Linked DNA regions of Homo sapiens: region 2 is linked to region 1. Evidence: promoter capture Hi-C in 16 types of primary human blood cells and fetal thymus (Javierre and others, 2016). All regions are on one chromosome and are shown on one strand. Each heading gives the region's core, a stretch centred on a gene start or on the middle of the fragment in contact. The rest is flanking DNA. Distances are from core to core; before and after follow the strand shown. Region 1 holds the start of SERP1 (stress associated endoplasmic reticulum protein 1). Region 2 overlaps MED12L (mediator complex subunit 12L).

Region 1 (3,693 bases), core at 1,084-3,583:
GGCCTCTAAGAATATGAGAATATGAAGAGTAGACTGAACAGACAACATTTAAGCTCTTACAAAGTCCCTGATTTTAAGCACTGTAAGACAATTGTCATCCTTGGTTAATTTACTATAAAGTGGCTATCCTTCATTAATTTAAAAGGATAGTCTAAACAGACAAATCTAATCTAGATCTCTTGTATGCACAGTTCAAAATAGGGTTTGCGCTCTTATGAGGCTCTAATGCCCCCACTGATCTGACAGGAGGGGAAGCTCAAGTGGTAATGCTTGCCCAGTACCAGTCCGGCCCAGGGGGTTGGGGACCCCTGATTTAGAGTATCTATTGTCTACCAGGCACTGCACTAGTACTGAGAAGACAGATATGAATAAGACCCTGTCGCTGACATTGAAGGACTCACAGTCTAGCAGGGGAGAAAGGCAAGTGAATGTCTAATTATCCTACTTAGTAAGTGAAATAAAATTTCAAATATATTTCAGGTACAAAAATAGCCCAGGAAGTGACTGACTCTATCTGGGTAGAGTGACGAAAGGCTTCACAGAGCAATGATATCTAAAATGAATTTTAATTTCAACAGATGAAAAAGAGTTTGCCAAATCAACAAGAGGCATAGGATAGTACTAGACTGAAGAAACAGGTTGTTCAAAGGGACTCAGAAGCAGTTCAGTATTGATGGAGCACCAAATAAGATGGGATGGCAAGGAAATAAATGAGTCTCAAGAGCAATTCAAAGATTATAAATGGTTACATAACTATGCTACATAGGATGGAATCTACCCTGTAAGCAGAGAGGAACTACCTACTGTAGGCATTTTTAAAGGAGGGGTTATTTATCAGATTTTAGAATGTAATTTTTTCATTAGAGTTCAAATAAGCATTTAGTATTAAAAATTGTGAATAACAAGCTACCTTTACAAACCTAAAAAAAAATTTATTATGTAACTTTGCCTTTTAAACAGTCTTTGCCTGGTATATTATCTAGAAGATTATACTCGGCGTTTGATAAATGATGACTAAACTGCAGAAGACAGACTGAGCATCAGTGGGCATGGCGCTTAATAACAAAGATTTTAAAATGTAAAAATAGAAATGTAGACTGGCAAAAAGTGCAAAAATGTTTTAAGGTTCCTTTCGCGGGGGGGAAGGGAGGGAATAGCCTCCCTCCTTAAATGCAGACAACCTTTCTCTTAATGACTTTTTCCTTCTATATAGTTATCAGAACTTAACCAAAACCTTCTTTTCCTTCCCGACTCTCTTTTCCTTACGTAATACTCATATGCAGACTCTTAGCCACACCCTAGTAAAGCAACTTCCCCAGCATTTTCCAATCTAAGTTTATTATCTCCTCCAACACTACAGTCTTTAGCTTCAAAATTTCAAGAGTCCTCTAATGTTCTATTTCTAATATGCTCATAACCATTTCAAAATCAAATGTTGCTAGAATATCTCTATCATGCTCACTGCTACACCCTCTCCCAACCACACCTTCATCATTTGAAACCTGCATTACAGCTCCACTCTCCCTATTCAGTCCTACAAACCTCATTAAGGCAGGAAGGCCAGAATCTGGAATTACTTAAGTCCAGGTGTATTTAAAGTGCGTGATCATTCTAGAGGACTAACTCATGTTTGTCTTTGTTCTTATTGTAGACCTAAATGACTTCACAAGGGCCCGTGTAACACCAGTATTGCAGACCCATGTGTCACAAATTCAACTAGCACATTGTTTTTCTCCCCCTTCTTCTATTTCTGTAGAAGATGAATCCGCAGGCAAGAATGATGGATGGGTGAAAGGGAGGGGGAATACGAAAGCCCAGAGGCGGAGACTTCACTTCCGATTGCCACGCTATATCAAGAAAGCCAACAGTCTGGCCTTTCCGCAAGCCACAAGAAAAGGCAGATCAGACTCCCCGGCTCCTCGGGTAGTTCTCAAAGGCAAAGACAAAAATAAGAAACTAGTCTGAAGAAAGAGAGTCCCTCGCTTCTTCAGAACTCACCTGTCAAGAGCGGCGTGGACGGCGCCATGTTGTCCCGGAAAGAGAAACCGCTCGGGTGAGAGTTCACCAGGGCCGAACCCGGCCCCTACACGTCTCCTCATGCGTGGAGACAGCGAATTGGTGTTTCCGGAGCCATCAGCCTCGGGGCCAATTCACTTCCGGTTACGGAGTGACGCGGAAAAGGCGCCCAAACGCGCACGCGCAAATCTAGGGCGACGCTTGACAGAGCTTGGGAGGGTGCGCCTGCTTTCGCCCTCCTTCTCCAGCGGGAGGGGCGCGCACTTCCGCGGGGCGGAGTCCGTCTAGTGCTGACGTTGGCAGCCGAACCCAAAGTAGATCGAGGCGGCGGGCTGCACATTCCCGTTGTTGCGTTGCGTTTCCTTCCTCTTTCACTCCGCGCTCACGGCGGCGGCCAAAGCGGCGGCGACGGCGGCGCGAGAACGACCCGGCGGCCAGTTCTCTTCCTCCTGCGCACCTGCCCCGCTCGGTCAGTCAGTCGGCGGCCGGCGCCCGGCTTGTGCTCAGACCTCGCGCTTGCGGCGCCCAGGCCCAGCGGCCGTAGCTAGCGTCTGGCCTGAGAACCTCGGCGCTCCGGCGGCGCGGGCACCACGAGCCGAGCCTCGCAGCGGCTCCAGAGGAGGCAGGCGAGTGAGCGAGTCCGAGGGGTGGCCGGGGCAGGTGGTGGCGCCGCGAAGATGGTCGCCAAGCAAAGGATCCGTATGGCCAACGAGAAGCACAGCAAGAACATCACCCAGCGCGGCAACGTCGCCAAGACCTCGGTAAGGAAAGAGCGGGCGCCCCTCTGCGTTCCGCAGCCGGAGCTGAGTCCGGGTCCCTGGGGCCGCGTCGCGTTTTCTCCCGGATCCGGCCGACCGTGGGCTGGTGCCGTGGAGGGGTAGGGGCCCGAGTCTGCGAACCGCCAGACTGTGGGGGCTCGGGAACGGAAGGGGAGACCTGTGAGGTGAGGGGGCCGGCGACCGGCGTGCAGGCGTGGGAGCCTGGGGTCCGAGTGGTTTCTCTGCATCTGAAATGGTGGATTTTCGCTTTTGCAGAGAAATGCCCCCGAAGAGAAGGCGTCTGTAGGACCCTGGTTATTGGCTCTCTTCATTTTTGTTGTCTGTGGTTCTGGTAAGTGGCTTGGGGGCTCCCATCAGGTAGAGTCTTGGGTTGAAAGGATTTGGGATGACGTGGTGACCGGTCAGTAGTGAGTCCTACCTGCGTAGTTCTCAACCCACCTGCCGAGGACTCCACATAATTCTGTTTCGTCTGAACCAAATTACTTGTTCCACATATGCACAGAGGGTGGTGCTCCAGAAACTTCTCCCAGCTTAATTTGTACTCACAGGAGATCAAAAAGGAGGTCAGGTCTTGGTAATGATCCAGTTGGAATAAATGTTAAGACCGGACAAAACCTAACGAAATGAGAATTTAGAATGTTTTGTAACTCCATTATCAGTCTTTGCAAAGAAAATTATAAATATGTACTATAGATGTTAGAACTTGATTTAACATATACCAGAATCTAATGTCTTAATGTCAAAATTGAGTATATTTTATAAAATAAAGCTTGTGCAAAGAATTGATTCACTATAGAGGAAATTACCTGATTGGCATTTTAATGTGTGAGTCAAATGTTTTTAGGTTAATAAAAGAAACGTTTGATACATGGTTTAAAAAAAAAGTGTCGGGGTAGCC
Region 2 (3,716 bases), core at 1,215-3,714, 540 kb before region 1:
ATTCATCCCAAGTTTATTCATGTTCCAATAAATATTTGTGCCCTCAGCCTTCTAGGAACTAATTGTGCAGGTGCCAGGTACTTCTGCCATACCAAAACAGACCTCATCCATGCCCTCATGAAACTGACCTATTAGGGGGAGATGGCAAGATGCAAATAAGTATATAATTGTAAATGATATATCAGAAAAGCCTGAGACTTGAATGATGAAGGGGCAGGCATGACAGTAGTTCATGACAGCAAACATATAGGGGCTGAATCTATGACAGATTCTGTTCTAAGTGCTTTTTACATATACTATCTAGGTAATCTTCCAACAGCCCTATGAGTTAAGTAGTATTATCACTCTCACTCTATATGGAAGGAAAATGAAGTATAGGGAGAATAAGGGGCACATAAACAGGACAGCCAGGGTCCCAACCCAAGCAGACTGGCACCAGAGCCTACCTTTCTAACCACAGGCTAAGGTGAGAAGAGCTGAGTGGAATGCTAAGTGGGAGGGGGTGGCTAGACAGGTGTCCAGGCAGAAAGACCAGAACAGAATATGCAGGAGCCCTGGGGAAGAGAAGTCACCCTGAAGCCAGAAGGGAGACCAAGCATACTGGTGAAACTGGAGAGCATCTGGTGGATTGGAAATATATTTTGGAACTGAACAGGATGTGCGCATGGATGTAGAGACGCTGATGGATGAATGGGGTATAAGCAAGGAGGAGGTCTCAAGGATGACTGCCAGTTTTCTGATTCCCTGCTTTAAAGGCTTGAGCACAGTCTGTTTGTAGGAAGCAAAGTATTATAACACAATATATAATGAAGTCCTACAGGATGCTGATGCACAGCAAGCTCTCAAAAAAATATAACCAATCCATCAGGCAGGTTAAAGCTTCCATATTCTCCCCCCCGCCCCACCCCCATACTTCTCCACATGGGTCTTCGTTCATGGGTTCCACCCTACCTTCTGGGAGCCCTTTTCTGAAATATATTACCACTGGTTAACAACAACAATAAAAATTACATTTATGGTGACAAGAATAACTTCTACCAGGAGGAGGGCTTTTCTCACACAAATGTTGGTTTGAAATTTTTTCTGAAGTGCACAAACTAATTTACAAATGAGAGGCTATGCAACTTGCCCAAGGCCACACAATTGCAAAAAAAAAAAAAAAGCTAAATCCAGGTTGGCCCAACTTGGAAGCCCACACTTCCTCCATTAAATCAGCATTTTCCACCACAGCTATCTCTAATGGAACACAACTGTTGTTTTCGATACACAGATGAACTTTTAAAGTGTTAATAGTAATGGTCTCATTTTATTATGTATAATCATATACGTGTGTGCATGTAATATCAAATAGATTAAAAATAGTATGTAAACATGATTTGATATAAATTTTATATATACATATATTTCAATAAATCCATGACTCCACGTGTAGTACTGCCCAGGAAACACAAAGTTTCTTAAAAAATTAGTTTAAAGAAAACTTCAGAATAAAAGTACAGGTGGTACAGGGGTAGGGTAGAAATCTTGAGGGAGGTAGGACATAAATAACTAAAGCTTAGGAAACTCTACTCACCAACCACCCAAGAACAGCCAAGCACCTGTTCCATATTGTACCCAAATTTGGCTACAGCCACACATAACTCTGTCTGCTTGGGAGAGTTAAAACATTGGCTGCCTTGGGGGAAAGGGGATAACATCAGAAGATAATTTAGCATAAATCATCCTCAAAGCAGTATTAGTTTTGACATAAATACTGGTTTGGTGGTACAACTCCTCTGCTTATTCACCTATACACCTTGGTTAAACGAGTCAAGCTTTCCCAGGCCTGTTTCACTTAGTCAAAAGGAAGTTATAGAAAGTAGTCCCTAAGGTCGCTTCCAGTTTTAGAACTCCATAAAATGTTGTGAGACCCTGAAATCCAAAATTACTCTTTCCAGAATCAGAGGCCCCAGTCGTGAAATGAGCATTGGCCTGAAGAACAAATGCTAAATAAGCCCACACAGCACCCCAAGCCATCATGCCATCAATTATGCTGCCCTCTGGAAAGACAGAGTAAGACATTAATTACAAGATGATAAAGTTCAACCAACAAAATATCCCTGTCCCTATCAAAACTTTAAGAATTTCCTCCCAATAATTTTTAAGCTATTAACTGTACACTTGATCCTCAGCTTCTCTATTATTTCCAGTCCTTAACCATTAACTTCATTCTAAGTTGGGGTAGCAGGGTGGGGTAACGGGTAGGAAAAAAAATCTGGGAAATCTTCTCAAACCTCTACCATCCTGTAAAGCTGGTGCTGGAAACCACCTGTAAAACCTTCCCAGCTTTCATCTGCGTGACTCCACTGATGCTAGAGCATATTTAGTGTGCTAAACCTCTAAAAGGAGTTGCTGTTCCTTACTTCTCAGACACTTTATAAGCAAGACAGTTTAGCCAGAACAAGCACTTACTCTCCTAATGAAAGATACACTTATCAAAAGGAAAGTCTTAAGGACCCCTCCTTGCCTGGTTTACAAGGCCCTTTCTGTGCTATCAGTGGGCCCACAAACTTTTAATGGAGGGTTTTTAGATTCTCAGAAAGGTAAGTTTTGAAATATGGTCAGTTCGTGTTTAGCTGAACAGAAGATGGGTGGACTGCAGCTGGCAAACTCAGAAAGCACTGCTGGGTAGCAGGTGATCAAAAAAAAAACAAAAAAAAGGCAAGTCCCTGGGCAAATGGTGTAGCCAAAGGTGATCATTATAACTAGAGACTTGTTACATAATTACTTGTTAACTCCTGACAAACAGATACACAGCTACAAAATGCCATGGTTACCCTAGCCATTGAAGCTAATGTAGCTGGTGCAAGAGTCAAGGTGTCTCCAATTAATCTCATTCAAAGAAATAAGCAATCCTGGGAACTATTCCCTCCCAAGGTAACTCGCCTGCTTTTACGTATACAAAACAGCCTCTAGCAATTAAGCCCATTGCCTCTAGAGACGAAAATCAGTGTTTCTCCTTAATTTTAATTTTTAAAGGGCAGAAGGGTTACAGAGGTATATTCAGAGAGCTAAATATTTATCACTTCGATAAAAACGACTTCCATTCCAAACTGGAAAATTTGAAAAGCTTCCCCCTCACCTTCGTCCCTGGCCAGCAAAAGCAAAACGCAAGACCTCAGTGTAGGATGCACTGCATTCCAACATTTTTCAAAAAGTTTACGACGATTTACCGAAGCGGCAAGAAGAAAAATAAAGCAGGCAGAAACGGGTGAGAGCGAGCAAGGTTTCGGCAGGGAAGAAGCCCGAGAAGCGCCCGGCGGCGCCGTGCAAGGCCCGGCAACGGGAAAGCGACCGGCACATGGAAAGCGAGCGCCCCAGTGGAGCGCGGGGACTGACAGCCGCTCGGTCTCCGCCGCCGGGGGGTCGCCCAGCACCCCCAGCCTGGCCCCCGCCTCTAATCCCCCTCCCCGACCTCTTCCACCGCAGCGCCGGCGATGCCCGCTGGGCCAACTTGGCCCCGGGTCAGTGCTGCAGAGCGCGGCCCCGGTTGCCGGGGAGGCCGCCGGCGCCCTTACCTCCTTCTGCTTGGGGTCCTGTGGGTAGACGTCGGGCGGCCCGAGCCGGGGGCGCTTCAGCGGTCTCTGCTCATAGCTGAGAAGCCCGAAGGCGGCCATGATCTCTCATGTTAACCGGCGAAATGAATGAGAGTTGGAGCTGGAGCAGCCGCCTCTGAG

What was found. The method cuts DNA at HindIII sites, captures the fragments that hold promoters and counts their contacts. A CHiCAGO score of 5 or more calls a contact.
Region 2: a fragment that was not itself captured here is called in contact with the fragment with the promoter of SERP1 in region 1 in 2 of 17 cell types (fetal thymus and erythroblasts); the score reaches 6.7 in fetal thymus.

The regions. Positions count from the first base shown.
Region 1 is chr3:150,545,136-150,548,828 of GRCh38, reverse strand. It overlaps SERP1 (stress associated endoplasmic reticulum protein 1), which reads left to right and starts at 2,333. Exons shown (of 3, transcript NM_014445.4): 1 at 2,333-2,777; 2 at 3,051-3,126. The coding sequence starts at 2,694. EIF2A (eukaryotic translation initiation factor 2A) reads right to left here and starts at 2,042. Exons shown (of 14, transcript NM_032025.5): 1 at 1,999-2,042. The coding sequence starts at 2,026. RefSeq lists enhancers at 1,735-2,274, 1,547-2,746, 2,192-2,822. The HindIII fragment of the contact is 4,802 bases long and covers 1-3,566 here.
Region 2 is chr3:151,086,867-151,090,582 of GRCh38, reverse strand. MED12L (mediator complex subunit 12L) reads right to left here. Exons shown (of 45, transcript NM_001393769.1): 2 at 3,558-3,716. The coding sequence starts at 3,656. Among named protein-coding and RNA genes, the nearest start is that of MED12L, 3.1 kb to the right of the region's middle. The HindIII fragment of the contact is 1,295 bases long and covers 1,817-3,111 here.